4 separate regions of the Homo sapiens genome follow, and regions 1, 2 and 3 are each linked to region 4. The links are contacts of gene promoters, found by promoter capture Hi-C in blood cells and fetal thymus (Javierre and others, 2016). All regions are on one chromosome and are shown on one strand. Each heading gives the region's core, a stretch centred on a gene start or on the middle of the fragment in contact. The rest is flanking DNA. Distances are from core to core; before and after follow the strand shown.

Region 1 (3,262 bases), core at 700-3,199, 290 kb before region 4:
GTGAAAAGAAGTGTAGCAACACAGTATATATAAAAGTGTATGTTGCCTACAGCACATTTCTCAGAAAAATTTGCTCTGCACCAAGACTTAACAGCAGAAAGGAAATCCCACCTATAGAGTGGATATCAACTTTAAAGTAAATGCCTTAATTTAGACATGATGAGTTTAATTTTAGTAAAAATCACTAAATAATTGTACTATATTTTGCTTTAAGATGGAACCTTGAATGCTTAAATATTTTAATAGTCCCAAATCACAACTTTTTATTATTTAACGCCTTTTCTTCTTATTTTATTTTATTTTATTTTATTTTATTTTATTTATTTATTTATTCATTTTTTGAGATGGAGTCTTTCTCTGTCGCCCAGGCTGGAGTGCAGTGGTGTGATCTCGGCTCACCGCTTCCTGGGTTCAAGTGATTCTTCTGCCTCAGCCTCCCGAGTAGCTGGAACTATAGGTGCCTCCCACCATGCCTGGTTAGTTTTTGTATTTTTTAGTAGAGATGAGGTTTCATCATGTTGGCCAGGCTGATCTCGAACTCCTGGCCTCATGTGATCTGCCCACCTCAGCCTCCCAAAGTGCTGGGATTACAGGTGTGAGCCACCGCGCCCAGCCTTAACGCCTTTTTCAAAGAGTCTTAAACAATTAGTTTTATCTTTTCTCTCTGTCAGTGTTTATTCTTTTTTGCTTTATTCTTGATTTAAGCTCTAGTTTTCAAGGATGCCTTTTTTTTGTACTCAAGTAAAACCAGGATGCATTTTTTTTCTTTTTTCAACCCTATTAACTGACAAGATGCATTGTTAATTGGTGTTAAAAGCACATGATTTCTAGTTTCTGTTATTTAATCATTCTAATAGACATAACAGAATAGAAATAATGTCTTTCCAGTGCAATGAATTCCTATCTTGCTCAAGAGGTTTGTATTTTGAAAGTTCACTTATCAGTGAGTTACTTGGAACAAAAAAATATTTTTTCCCTAGACATAGGATAGTGTAATTAATGGACATAATGCTTCTAACATCGCTTACAAAAGACTAATCCATTGTGTAATGAACTATGATGTTATAGAAATTGACCTGCATTTGTTGACTTATTTTAACTTGGAAAGTTAGGAACACACATTAATAGTAAGAAAGGAAAGCCAGCTCTTTCTCCTTCTTCAGCAGTGAAAATGAGGCAGCCTCTTTTCCATTGAGCTGTGCCAACAAGAATGGGTCTCCTATGAATCTGGTAGCAGCAAGAAGTAGAAAGGAGGTTCTGGTTGTCCACCAACCAGCAGCCTGCAGTGAAAGGAGATCCAGCAATTAAGACATAAATTAATTCACAACAGCTATTATTACTTGAGACCATTTCTTTTATTGCTGAAGCATTGGGATTAAATTAAACTGGAATTACTAAACTCTAAATTGACTAAATTAGGACTAAGGACTAAATTCCTAAATCAGTTTTGCTTTTTCTTTTCTAGCTTACTAATGAGGAAAGCTTTGTTTGACCACCTAACTGCTCGAGGCATTCAAGTAAGTTTCTGGAATGATGCATTTTGGAAGCAGCATAGCTCACCAGTTTAACACAAATATAAAGGGCAAGAACTTTTAACTGACTTAGTTTGGCCCTTGACTCTGATGCTGCTGCTTTACTGATCCACAAATGAGGACCTTAAGCTCTTCCTTACACTTAGCAATAAAGCATTGGCATTTCTGGATCTAGATTCCTCTTATGTACAGAATAGCTGATGCCAGAGGGGTGGGACAGTGTTTGTGTGTGTGTATATATATATAAATATATGTATGTATATTTCTTTTTTTACTTTTTTCTTTTTTTTTTTTGAGATGGAGTCTCACTCTGTCACCCAGGCTGGAGTGCAGTGGTGCAGTCTTGACTCACTGCAACCTCCACCTCCCAGGTTCAAGCAATTCTCATGCCTCAGCCTCCTAAGTAGCTGGGATTATAGGCATGCACCACCATACCTGGCTAATTTTTGTATTTTTAGTAGAGACTGGGTTTTGCCATGTTGGCCAGGCTGATCTCGAACTCCGGACCTCAGGTGATCTGCCTGCCTTGGCCTCCCAAAGTGCTGGAATTACAGGCGTGAGCCACCGCGCTCAGCCAGGAGTCTGTATATTTAACAAGCACCATGAATTTTTTTTTAACACTCCTCATTCCTGTAAGGAACAAAGTGGAATTTTAAAAAAGGATCTAATGATTTATTTAAATGATAGCTTTAAAAGGTTATTTCTAAATGTACCAAGACTGTAGTGGATAAATACTGTTATAAAAATAATTTTCTATTTTAACATTTCTTCTCATACTTCTCACACTTCTAATTTTCAGGTGTATATTTGGGTATTAAATGAAGAACAAGAATACAAAAGAGCTTTTGATTTGGGAGCAACTGGGGTGATGACAGACTATCCAACAAAGCTTAGGGATTTTTTACATAACTTTTCAGCATAGAAAAAGAGGTACTTAGAAGTATTGAAGGAAAAAATGAAGACCTAAGAAAAAAATATTTCATGATCATTTCCCTAAGCCATTTCCAGAATGGTAAAAGGTTTAATCAGTTTTTATTACCTCATTTTTAAGCCTGTATGAGAATGTAGAAACTATATATTATATGTATATTTATTTTAAATAATATTGTATATTTTATGTTTGTAAATTGTTTAGAAAGATAATTGGTTATGAGATGTAAGTTTTAATTTCTTAATGTGCATTTTTGTTTCTAGATCTTATACAGAAATCTTGATTAATAACATACACAGAAATGTACATACTACATCATCTACAGAAATCTTGATCAATAACCTAGAAACTAGGTTATCTAGGTTATTGATCAAGATTTCTGTAGATGATGCAGTGTTCTATCATAAGTAATTCTGGAATCAAAGACTATTGGATACATTTGGCATTGGGCTGAGTGTGGTGGCTCATGCCTGTAATCCCAGCACTTTGGGAGGCTGAGACAGGCGGATCATCTGAAGTCAGGAGTTAAAGACCAGCCTGGCCAACATGGCAAAACCCCATCTCTACCAAAAATACAAAAATTAACCATGCGTGGTGGTACACGTCTGTCATCCCAGCAGCTCTTAAGGCTGAGGCACAAGAATTGCTTGAACCCGGGAGGCAGAGGCTGTAGTGAGCCAAGATAGCACCACTGCACTCCAGCCTGGGAGACAGAGTGAGACTCCGTCTCAAAAAAAAAAAAAAAAAAAAAAAATGGGAGGCCGAGGCGGGCGGATCACGAGGTCAGGAGATCGAGACC
Region 2 (3,325 bases), core at 318-2,817, 350 kb before region 4:
GGACTACAGGCATGCACCACTATGCCTGGCTTATTTTTGTATTTTTAGTAGATACGGGGTTTCACCATGATGGCCAGGCTAGTCTCGAACTCCCGACCTCAGGTGATCTGCCTGTCTCAGCCTCCCAAAGTGCTGGGATTACAGGCGTGAGCCACCATGCCCAGCCTCAAAATAATTTTTATGCCACAGTGGTTTATTCTAGACGCTTCCATAGTCATCAGGTGATATTTTGAAAAATAGAACTATGTGCGTCAGTTGATCTACAGGAAATAGTTTAACAGCCCTAAACAGAACACATGATTTTTTAACCTGTAAGTTTCCTCAGAATGTTGCTCTGTTGCCCAGGCTGGAGTGCAGTGGCACCATCAAGGCTCACTTCAACCTCGACTAAAGGAATTTTTTTTTTTTTTTTTTTTTTTTTTTTTTTTTTTTTTTTTGAGACGGAGTCTCGCTCTGTCACCCAGGCTGGAGTGCAGTGGCGCCTTCTCGGCTCATTGCAACCTCTGCCTCCCGGGTCCAAGAGATTCTCCTGCCTCGGCCTCCTGAGTAGCTGGGATCACAGGCACACGCCACCACCCCTGGCAAATTTTTGTATTTTTAGTAGAGATGGAATTTCGCCATGTTGGCCAGGCTCCTGACTTCAAATGATCTGCCCGCCTCAGCCTCCCAAAGTGCTGGGATTACAGGCTTGAGCCACCGTGCCCAGCCACCCCCTATTTTCTTCTAATTTTCTTTTTATAGTTGAGATAGGGTCTTGCTCTGTCGCCCAGGCTGGGGTGCAGTGGTGCAGTCATAGCTCACTGCAGCCTCGATTTTCCAGGCTCAAGCAATACTCCCACTTCAGCCTCCCAAGTAGCGTGACTACAGGTGCACGCCACCACGCCGGGCTTATTTTGTTTTATTTTTTGTAGAGATGGGGTTTCGCCATGTTGCCCAGGCTGGTCTCGAACTCCCGGGCTCAAGCGATCCACCCTTCCTTCCCGGCCTCCCTAAGTGCTGGGATTACAGGCGTGGGCCACCGCGCCCGGCTGAATCAGGATTTTAAATATTCACTCTGCTTTTCTAGTCCTGTGGGAGATATGGTCTTCTCCGTAAAATTTCTCCCTCAGTCCTGGGTGATTTATTTCTTTTGCATTGAAGTGTGTGGCTTTTCGTGTGTTAGCAGTTTGTAATTTGTCGGGTAAAAGGAAAACTAGTAGGGCCTTCTGGAACTTAGTTATCTGTCTTTCTAGGACTTTTAGGTAATACCTTATAACCTTAACAAAGTTTCCTTATTTTATACGGACTTGTAAGTCAACAAATACTTCTACAGTGCCTATTGTGTACAAAGAATGAGGATTGCACTTTCACAATGAAATGAGGGAGGACAGGGGCCGATCTCTCAGATATTTGACTGATAAACCAGTACCTTTTCTAGTATATGCGACCATAGGGGAAATTCTCTCTAGGCTAGATAAACGGAGGAGTTTATTTAGTGTTTTAGCAAGCTTTATCGCCTCCATAGGTACAAATTATTTGCATTTTCTAGAGCAAGGGATAAGACGCGCCCTGGAATCTTTCCTTTTTGATGTGGATTTTCCAATTAGGAAAGGCTGCCCGTGAATAGTCTTTTCTGCTTGAGTGATGGCCAACACACTGGCAGGTTTGCAAGCTTTCTCTTCATGAGGGTCCGTCCACAGAGCTAGGTGACAAACGCTCAGTCCAGGATCTCTGCAGGTTCCTACACGGGAGCCGGAGAGCGCCTGCGCGTCGGAGCCTCTTTGTTGCTGGGGCGCTGGGGTCCAGCTGCGCGTGCGCAGTAGGCCGGCACCGACAAGTGCGCTGCACCAGTGGCACCGGCTGGGGGCGAGCCGACCTCGAGCAGCCGCCGCCGCCGCCGTCGTTGCTACTGCCGCAGCGGAGTTCAGAGGGCCCGGAGGTGGGAGACTTCCCACACGGTGACTGAGATGTCGTCCACTGCGGCTTTTTACCTTCTCTCTACGCTAGGAGGATACTTGGTGACCTCATTCTTGTTGCTTAAATACCCGACCTTGCTGCACCAGAGAAAGAAGCAGCGATTCCTCAGTAAACACATCTCTCACCGCGGAGGTGAGAGGGGTCCCCAGAACCCGATGACGGAGGTGGGGGAGGCTGAGGGTCCTTTGCGGCTCCGCAAAAGGCAGCCGGGTGCCAATCCCTGAGAGTTTGAGGAAGAATGGGGTTGTGTGAATTGAGGGCTCTTCCGGAGGTGAAGGCTGTGTGAAGGGAAGGTCTCCTGAGGGGAGGGAAGGAGAGGGATTCCCGGTCAGAGCCACGGCGGGGGTCTCTCGAGGGCAGCAGTGTGAGGGGTTCTCTGAAACGGGAAAGACACGGTCGAGAATGAAGGGTAGGTGGAGCGTTTCTCGGCGGATGGAAGGATGATCGCAAGGTCCCTTCCTAGCAGCAAGACACAAAGGGGGAGCGCCGTGCAGAACCGAGGGTACCCCGCGGGGGGCACCGGGAGCACACTGCTCCGAGCGAGCTAGTGGCTGAGTGGATGGGAAGAGCCGAGGCGACGAGGAGGGCTGGGGATTTGCATGAAGCTGGACGAGCTGTAACCCCTTGTCTGCGGTGCTGGGGGCCCGTCCCACCCCCACGTTCCGAGCACTCATAATTGAGAAGAGAGGGAAACCGAGTCCCCCGAGCCAGGGACATTTCCCAAGGTCACAATTAGAGCTAGGGCTGAACTGAGACAGGAGCTACAGCGTCCTGGTCCTCAGGGCTGGAAACCTTGCATCTTTTTTTTTTTTTTTTTGAACACTGCAATAAATAAATAAATAAATAAATAAATAAATAAACACGCAAAGACACGTGGATTTTCAACAGACTAAAAATGATTTCGTTTAGGACAGGACAGTATTGTTTAAAGAAAACAAAAATAAGTTTCTTTTGGAAAAGTGTTTTGCTAAAAGGAGCCCAGGTAGTCCACCCTCTAATTTCCCAGATAACAGGCCAAATCTTTGCTTCTTCATTATTGTGTAATAATGTGTCTTCATTGCATTTCAACTATGATGTATAAAGTGCGGTGAAATTGGATTATTTTCAATCAATTTTAACTGTTCTTTAAGGCTGAATCTTAAACCGGTTTAAAATTTGCTTGAAATTTAATACACACTTGAAATGATAATTTCTAGGAGTTTACAGTCTAAAACTTGGTGTAGTACCATAATCACTTTACTAACAAGTATTGGCCAAGGAAAAAGGTTTTGAAATATAAATACGGAAGTACATTATCATTCTTCTATATAATTTTATTAGTTAAGCATAGTTCTAATGAGTGACTTCAATAGTATTCTAGCCTTCCCAC
Region 3 (3,573 bases), core at 391-2,890, 260 kb before region 4:
AAAAAAAAAGAAAGAAAGAAAACAAAGGTACTCATCTGAAATAGCCCTTTATACCTTCTCATTATCTCTCACCCTTATCCAGTTTCATTTTTATCCATAGCACATATCACTAGCTGACATTTTTTTTATATATTGATATATTTGCTAGTTTTTTATCTGTCTCTTCCCACCAGGATATAAGTCCATAACCATAAGGAATTTGTTTTGGCTACTGCCTTATCTCAGAGCTTAGAACAATGCTTGGCACATAGAAGGTCTCAATAAATATTTGTTAAATAAATGAATTGTTATATTGCAGCTTCAGCTGTGGATCCACTTACAAATTAGTTTTTGTCTGGACATGAAATACTCCCCTTTCCTGATAATAAGCACTATGACTAATTTAAAAGTTGATCACAGATTGCAAAATGGGTTTGGGGACAATGATATCAATCCATGTGTTGCAGGCACTGAGATTTTATTGGTTGACTTCTAAGCCCAAAGCTAAGAAGGCAGTAGAGTGGAGGAAGAGGAAAATGAATAAGCCATGGTCTTCCTAAGCTAAACTGCTTGTGCTATAGTCAAGGACTTTGACCCTGGAATCAGACAGAATTAGGAAAGCAAATCTTAAGAAATGTGATAGTGCTGGGCACAGTGGCTCATACCTGTAATCCCAGCACTTTGGGAGGCCAAGGCGGACAGGTCACCTGAGGTCAGGGGTTCGAGACCAGCCTGACCAACATGGAGAAACTCCGTCTCTACTAAAAATACAAAATTAGACAGGTGTGGTGGTGCATGCCTGTAATCCCAGCTACTCGGGAGGCTGAGGCAGGAGGATCTCTTGAACCTGGGAGGCAGAGGTTGTGGTGAGCCGAGATTGCACCAACGCACTCCAGCCCGGGTAACAAGAGCGAGACTCCGTCTCAAAACAAAGTGAAACAAATCAAAACAAAAAAAAAATGTGATATTTACAGGGTGACATATGCAGGTAGAGGAAATGGTCCCTCCGGATCTAAAATGCTCTTTTTGATTTGAAAGATAAAATACAAGGAGAGGATAAGGAATATACAACAAAAATAAATTTGTCTTAAGGTGGAATTTATTTTATTTATGTGTTTAATTGACAATAATTGTACATATTCATGCAGCACATAGTAATGTTACCTTTTTTTCCTTTTTAAAACATTGTTTTCTATCACTTGTGTTTCACACAGGACATAATGATGTTTCAATACATATAATGTATAGCGATCAGGTGAGGATATTAGCATATCCATCATCTCAAACAGTTATCCTTTCTTTGTGTTGAGAATGCTCAATATCCTTTTTTGTGAGACATGGTCTTGCTTTGTCACCCAGGCTGCAGTGCAGTAGCATAATTATAGCTAACTGCAGTCTTGACCTCCCAGGCTCAAGCGATCCTCCCGCCTCAGCCTCTCGGACCACAGGTGTGTGCCACCGTGCCTGGCTAATTTTTTTTTATCTTTTTCTTTTTCTTTTCTTCCCTCCCCTACCTTCCTCTCCCTTCCCCCTCCCTGTCTCCCTCCCTCCCTCCTTCGTTTCCTTCTCTTCTCTTCCCTTCTCTTCTCTTCTATTCTTCTCTTTACTTTTCTTCTCACTATGTTGCCCAGGCCGGTCAATATCCTTCTCCTAACTACTTGAAACTACATGTTACTGTTAACTATAGTCATCCTATAGTGGTACACTAGAAGTTGTTCCTCCTATCTAGCTTTCTATCGCTTCCTTCCTCCTACCTTTCCTGGCCTATAGCATCCTCTGTTCTACTTTTTACGTCTATGAGATCACCTTTTTTTTTTTTTTAGCTTCCACATATGAGTGAGATCACGCGTTGTTTAACTTTCTGTTCCTGTTTATTCCTTAACATAATGTTTGAGGGGGAATTTAAATGCAAGAATGTAGATGTGAAAAATGAAATGGGTAGGTACAGCCAACAGTACAGAAAATAGTATGGAGGTTCCTAAAAAAATTAAAAATAGAATACCTTATGATCCAGCAATCCCACTTCTGGGTATATATATCCAAAGGACATGAAATCAGCATGTCAAAGAGATAGCTACACTCCCATGTTCATTGCAGCACTATCACAATAGCCAAGATATGGAAACAACCTAGATGTCCATCAACAGACAAATTGATAAAGAAAATGTGGTATACATATACAGTGGAATATTATGGAGCCTTTAAAAAGAAGGAAACCGCCTGGGCACGGTGGCTCACGCCTGTAATCCCAGCACTTTGGGAGGCCGAGATGGGCGGATCGCGAGGTCAGGAGATCGAGACCGTCCTGGCTAACACAGTGAAACCCCGTCTCCACTAAAACTACAAAAAGAAATTAGCCAGGTGTGGTGGCAGGCGCCTGTAGTTCCAGCTACTCGGGAGGCTGAGGCAAAAGAATGGCGTGAACCCAGGAGGCGGAGCTTGCAGTGAGTGAGCCGAGATCGCGCCACTGCACCCCAGCCTGGGCAACAGAGCAAGTCTCCGTCTCAAAAAAAAAAAAAAAAAAAAAAAAAAAAGAAGGAAACCCTGCCATTTGTGACAACATGGTTGAATCTGGAGAACATCATACTAAGTGAAATAAGCCAGACATAGAAGGACAAATACTGTATGATCTTACTTATATGTGGATCTAAAGCAGTCTAAATCACCTAAGACAAACTAACTTGCCTCTGTAACCCTTTGAAAGCAGGGTATCGCACATGAATACTTCCAAACGCAAAATCAATTCTGTGAGTTTCCGTAGTTCACCATTCATCAGGTACTGCTTTTTGCGAGTACAAACATATTTTTCTGCCGGGCACAGTGGCTCATGCCTGTAATCCCAGCACTTTGGGAGCTGAGGCGGGTGGATCATGAGGTCAGGAGATCGAGACCATCCTGCCTAACACGGTGAAACCCGTCTCTATTAAAAATACAAAAAATTAGCCGGACGTGGTGGCGCGGGTCTGTAGTCCCAGCTACTCTGGAGGCTGAGGCAAGAGAATAACTTGAACCCAGGAGGTTGCAGTGAGCCGAGATAGGTCCACTGCACTCCAGCCTGGGCGACAGAACGAGACTGTCTCAAAAAAAATTTTTTTTACCTACTATAAAATAAAATAAAATAAAATAGCCAGGTGTGGTGGGATGCACCTATAGTCCCAGCTACTCCAGTGGCTGAGGCAAGAGAATCCCTTGTTTCCAAGAGTACGAGTCCAACCTGGGCAACATAGTGAGACTTTGTGTCTAAAACAATTAAAAATAAAATTAAATAGTCAAAATAATAGTAGAAGAGAGTGGAATGGTGGTTGCCAGGGGCTGCAAGGAGGGGAAATTGAGGAGACGTTGGTCAAAGGATACAAAATTTCAGTTATGCAAGATGAATAAGTTCTGGAAGTCTAATATATAGCCACATGACTCTAGTTAACAATACTGCACTGTATACTTGCAATTTGCTAAAAGGATAGATCTTAAGTATTCTCACCACAAAAGAAAAAAGAAATGGTAACTATGAGAGGTGATAGATCCATTAATTAGCTTAATTATGGTGATTATTTGGATATCCATATATCAAAACATCAAGTTGTACACCTTAAACAT
Region 4 (3,632 bases), core at 719-3,218:
AAATAAAACATTAAGAAAATCATAAGAGAAAATATATTTACTATTCATTAAGTTTAAGTGGATCATCATAAAGGTTTCCATCCTGTTCAGTAGGCTGAAGAGAAGGAGGAGGAAGACAAAGGGTTGATCTTGCTATCTCCAGCTTAGCAGGTGCAGAAGAAAAAATCTGCCTACAAGTGGACCTGCGAAGTTCAAACCAGTATTGTTCAAGGGTCAACTGTATCAGAAAGATTTGACTACTATGAGCTAAGTGGTAATCATCATTGGTCTGAAATGATGATTTTTAGAAAGTGACTTTATTATATCACTGATAGAGATGCCCTATACTGAAATACTGAGATTACCAATACCTTGCCTGTACCACAAATGTATTTTTGCCATTTTGCTTTCTGTTTCTATAATATTTTGAATTCCTAACATGATCCAGAAGGCTGGGAGATGCTCCTAATGAAAGAGAGAAACCTGGAATGTTCTCCTATTTACCAGATTGCTTCCTCTCATACCCAGGTTTTGAGATATAAAGTTGTTACAAAGTTCCAACTTATTTGGTATCATTCAAAATCTGATGAGCTTGCATTTTAAGAAGTGTTGATCAGTTCCATTTAAAAGCAGTTGGTATGAGTTCACTTTATTTTTTGAGGTGGAATCTCGCTCTGTTGCCCAGGCTGGAGTGCAGTGGCATGATCTTGGCTCACTGCAACCCCTGCCTCCTAGGTTCAAGCGATTCTCCTGCCTCAGCCTCCCGAGTAGCTGGGATTATAGGCGCGTGCTACCACACCCGGCTAATTTTTTTTATTTTTTTATTTTTAATAGAGACGGGGTTTCACCATATTGGCCAGGCCGGTCTCGAACTCCTGATCTCAAGTGATTCATCTGTCCTGGCCCCCCAAGGTGCTGGCATTACAGGCATGAGCCACCATGCATGGCCATGACTTCACTTCAAATGAGCACAGAAAAATCTGGGGGCCCAACAACCTTATGGTACATCTTTTGAAGCCTGGTCAGACAAGAGGGTCTTTAGGTGATGGTGAAGTGACAGTTTTGAGTTGTCTTCTTTGGTAGTAAGTGTTGGCTAATTCTAACAGCAGGAACAATTGAGGAGTCCAACAAACAATCTTGTTCACATTGCAATGATTTTGTTACAGTTGACACTAATTTAAAAATTGGCAGGCTCTAGACCAGAAAGACCTGCCCCCAAAGTACCTTTTCTGAAAAAGTTGCCCTGCCTCAGATGCTGTGTATCTGTTGAACTTTTCAGCTACTGTGGTTTCCAAGGAATGCACCTCTATCAAAAATGAGCTTAATTCCTAAGGAAGTCAATTATTATTCCTCCATTCCAGCAAAGTCAACAAATATTGACAGCCCACCTTGAATCACTGTGCTGGGCCCTGGATGTAGCAGTGTTTTAATATTTCGACTCTTGTGGGGGGGGGCTTTACAATCTAGCTGGGCAGAAGAGGAAACATGCAAATAAATTAAAATGCAGGGTCCTATGAGGGAAATGAACAGCCTTGGTGACCTAAGTTTTGATAATAACATAACTAAAAGTTCGGCTCCACAACTCAGTAGCTGTGTGCCTTGGACAGGTCATATCAGATTAGGAAAGGTGAGAATGAGTTGAGGAACGCAGCACTCTGGGATCATGGTTCCAGCTCCGGGCAGAGGGTTACATCGTGTCAAGTGTGTGAAGGCAGAATAGCCTGCAGAGACCACTGTGGCGTTGAAAAGAGGTGTCGTCGCGACCTTCGGCGCCGGAGAGGCGAAACAAGAGGGGGTCTTCGGGCCCTCAGGTATGGCTCAGCCGCCCAAGGCGAAGCGCACGTGGCAGTTGGCGGGAAATCCCTGGGGGGTGGAGCCTCGGCTCGAGGTCCGGCCGCCCCGTACCACGTCATCGAGCAGCTCCCCCTCCCCTTGCTACAAGTCGCACGCGCGGAAGTAAACACCTCTACGTCATCAGGGCGCGTCCTCGTCTTTCCCCTCCCATCTCCTCAGATCGGTGGACGTGCTCGCCTCCACTCGGGGCCAGGTCTATGTCCCGGTTTCCCGCAGTCGCGGGCAGGGCGCCAAGGCGGCAGGAGGAGGGTGAGCGGTCAAGAGACCTCCAGGAAGAGCGGCTCTCGGCTGTTTGCATCGCCGATAGAGGTGCGGTCCGCGGGACGGTACGGAAGCCAGCGGGAGTTACGGCGTGGGGGTTTTGGTGGGGGGATGAAAGTACGCCTTTGGCAGGCTGAGAAGAGTAGTGAGGAAGCCGTGGCGTTCTCCTGGCTTTCCAAGCCCGAGGCGAACTTTGCGTCCAATGAGCACTTTGCCTTAGAGGGGGGCGGTCCCAGATTCAAGTTAGGCGAAAACCTTACTGGGGGGCGAAAAAGTGAACCCCAACGCCCGAAATGCATTCTGTTCTTAAACAGGCTCATAGACCCTTTGTTCTCTACCCATTCATCCCCCCCACCCTTCGTCGGGCCGCCAGCCTGCCTTTGGGTACAGTATGAAGGGAGCCAGTTTCCAGGAGCCAGTTTCCATGGTTACCCACCACTTGGCCTTCTGGGATATCAGTCGCTCTGAACAGGGACCTAACTTGAACCATGAATCAGAAGCAAACACAGGTGGCTTCTAATCCAGCTGAGAATTTTCTGCTGTGTTCCAGTTTTTGGTCTATTGTTAAATAAAATTGAGTTTTGTGCTTCTGTGTAAGTATGCATGTGTATACGTTGCCTTGAGCTATACTTGCTTTGAAAAGTACTTTGAGTTATGCGTGAACAAATGCTCAAGTTGCTGGATTTCACCAAAAAGTTGTTCTGGGCTCATTAACCCTCACTTACAAATTGCGCTCATTAACGCTCACTTACATGAGCGATTTAACTGAGAAGTCATGGATGATCCCGTCCAGCCCTAAAATTCTATTGCCTTTCTGGTTTTAGTCATGAGAAATTGAGTCAGAGATATCTTTACAAGTCTTTTAATTGACTTGTTTTTCTGTTATTACAGAAGAGAAAGGATGCACGTCCCAGGAGGGAGGAACTACTCCAACTTTTCCTATTCAGAAACAAAGAAAAAAGATTATTCAAGCTGTGAGGGACAATTCATTCCTTATTGTTACTGGAAATACAGGAAGTGGTAAAACAACTCAACTCCCAAAATATCTATATGAAGCAGGTGATTTTTTTCTGTTGTAATAATTGGAAATATTTTAAAAATATCCTCTTTTTAAAGGCCAGTAGGACTTCTGTACTCCATGATTGCCCAGTATTTGCTTTATAGTCCCGCTTCTCTTGGCACACCCCCTTCCCCTATGTCTCCTTTGCTTCTTTATGGTCTATTTCAGGTTCAAGAATTAGTTGGGATGGCAAATTTTCCCATTTTTAATTACCATAATAATCTCAAATAGAATTACATCTAGATATTCCATTTTATAGAATAAAGTTGTCTAGCAGTAGACTATTAACCATTGGATACTGAAATAATTTTGAGGGGTAAGAGATATGTGATATCTGTTGCTGCCATTAGTACTTCTTGGTTCTTTCTCTAGAGCATTATCAGGTAAATATTTATCCCCTGACTTTGCCAGCGCAAGCCAACTAACAAATTACCTTTAAAATACGTTAAGTAAAGTTAATAGGAGGCCTTTGGTTTGG

The links. Contacts are between HindIII fragments. The CHiCAGO score rates a contact against its expected background, and 5 or more counts as called.
Region 1: a fragment that was not itself captured here is called in contact with the fragment with the promoter of DHX40 in region 4 in 1 of 17 cell types (M2 macrophages); the score reaches 5.6 in M2 macrophages.
Region 2: a contact is called between a fragment that was not itself captured here and the fragment with the promoter of DHX40 in region 4, in 2 of 17 cell types (endothelial precursors and M0 macrophages). The highest score is 6.1, in endothelial precursors.
Region 3: a contact is called between a fragment that was not itself captured here and the fragment with the promoter of DHX40 in region 4, in 1 of 17 cell types (M0 macrophages). The highest score is 5.8, in M0 macrophages.

What each region holds. Positions count from the first base shown.
Region 1 is chr17:59,271,320-59,274,581 of GRCh38, forward strand. GDPD1 (glycerophosphodiester phosphodiesterase domain containing 1) reads left to right here. Exons shown (of 10, transcript NM_182569.4): 9 at 1,466-1,517; 10 at 2,332-3,262. The coding sequence ends at 2,454. Among named protein-coding and RNA genes, the nearest start is that of GDPD1, 52 kb to the left of the region's middle. The HindIII fragment of the contact is 939 bases long and covers 1,481-2,419 here.
Region 2 is chr17:59,218,664-59,221,988 of GRCh38, forward strand. It overlaps GDPD1 (glycerophosphodiester phosphodiesterase domain containing 1), which reads left to right and starts at 1,848. Exons shown (of 10, transcript NM_182569.4): 1 at 1,848-2,088. The coding sequence starts at 1,947. RefSeq lists an enhancer at 1,874-2,424. The HindIII fragment of the contact is 164 bases long and covers 1,486-1,649 here.
Region 3 is chr17:59,299,368-59,302,940 of GRCh38, forward strand. No RefSeq gene overlaps it. Among named protein-coding and RNA genes, the nearest start is that of YPEL2, 31 kb to the right of the region's middle. The HindIII fragment of the contact is 4,395 bases long and covers 1-3,573 here.
Region 4 is chr17:59,563,642-59,567,273 of GRCh38, forward strand. It overlaps DHX40 (DEAH-box helicase 40), which reads left to right and starts at 1,969. Exons shown (of 18, transcript NM_024612.5): 1 at 1,969-2,142; 2 at 2,986-3,153. The coding sequence starts at 2,031. RefSeq lists enhancers at 1,650-2,192, 1,808-2,067 and a silencer at 2,478-2,607. The HindIII fragment of the contact is 14,558 bases long and covers 1-3,632 here.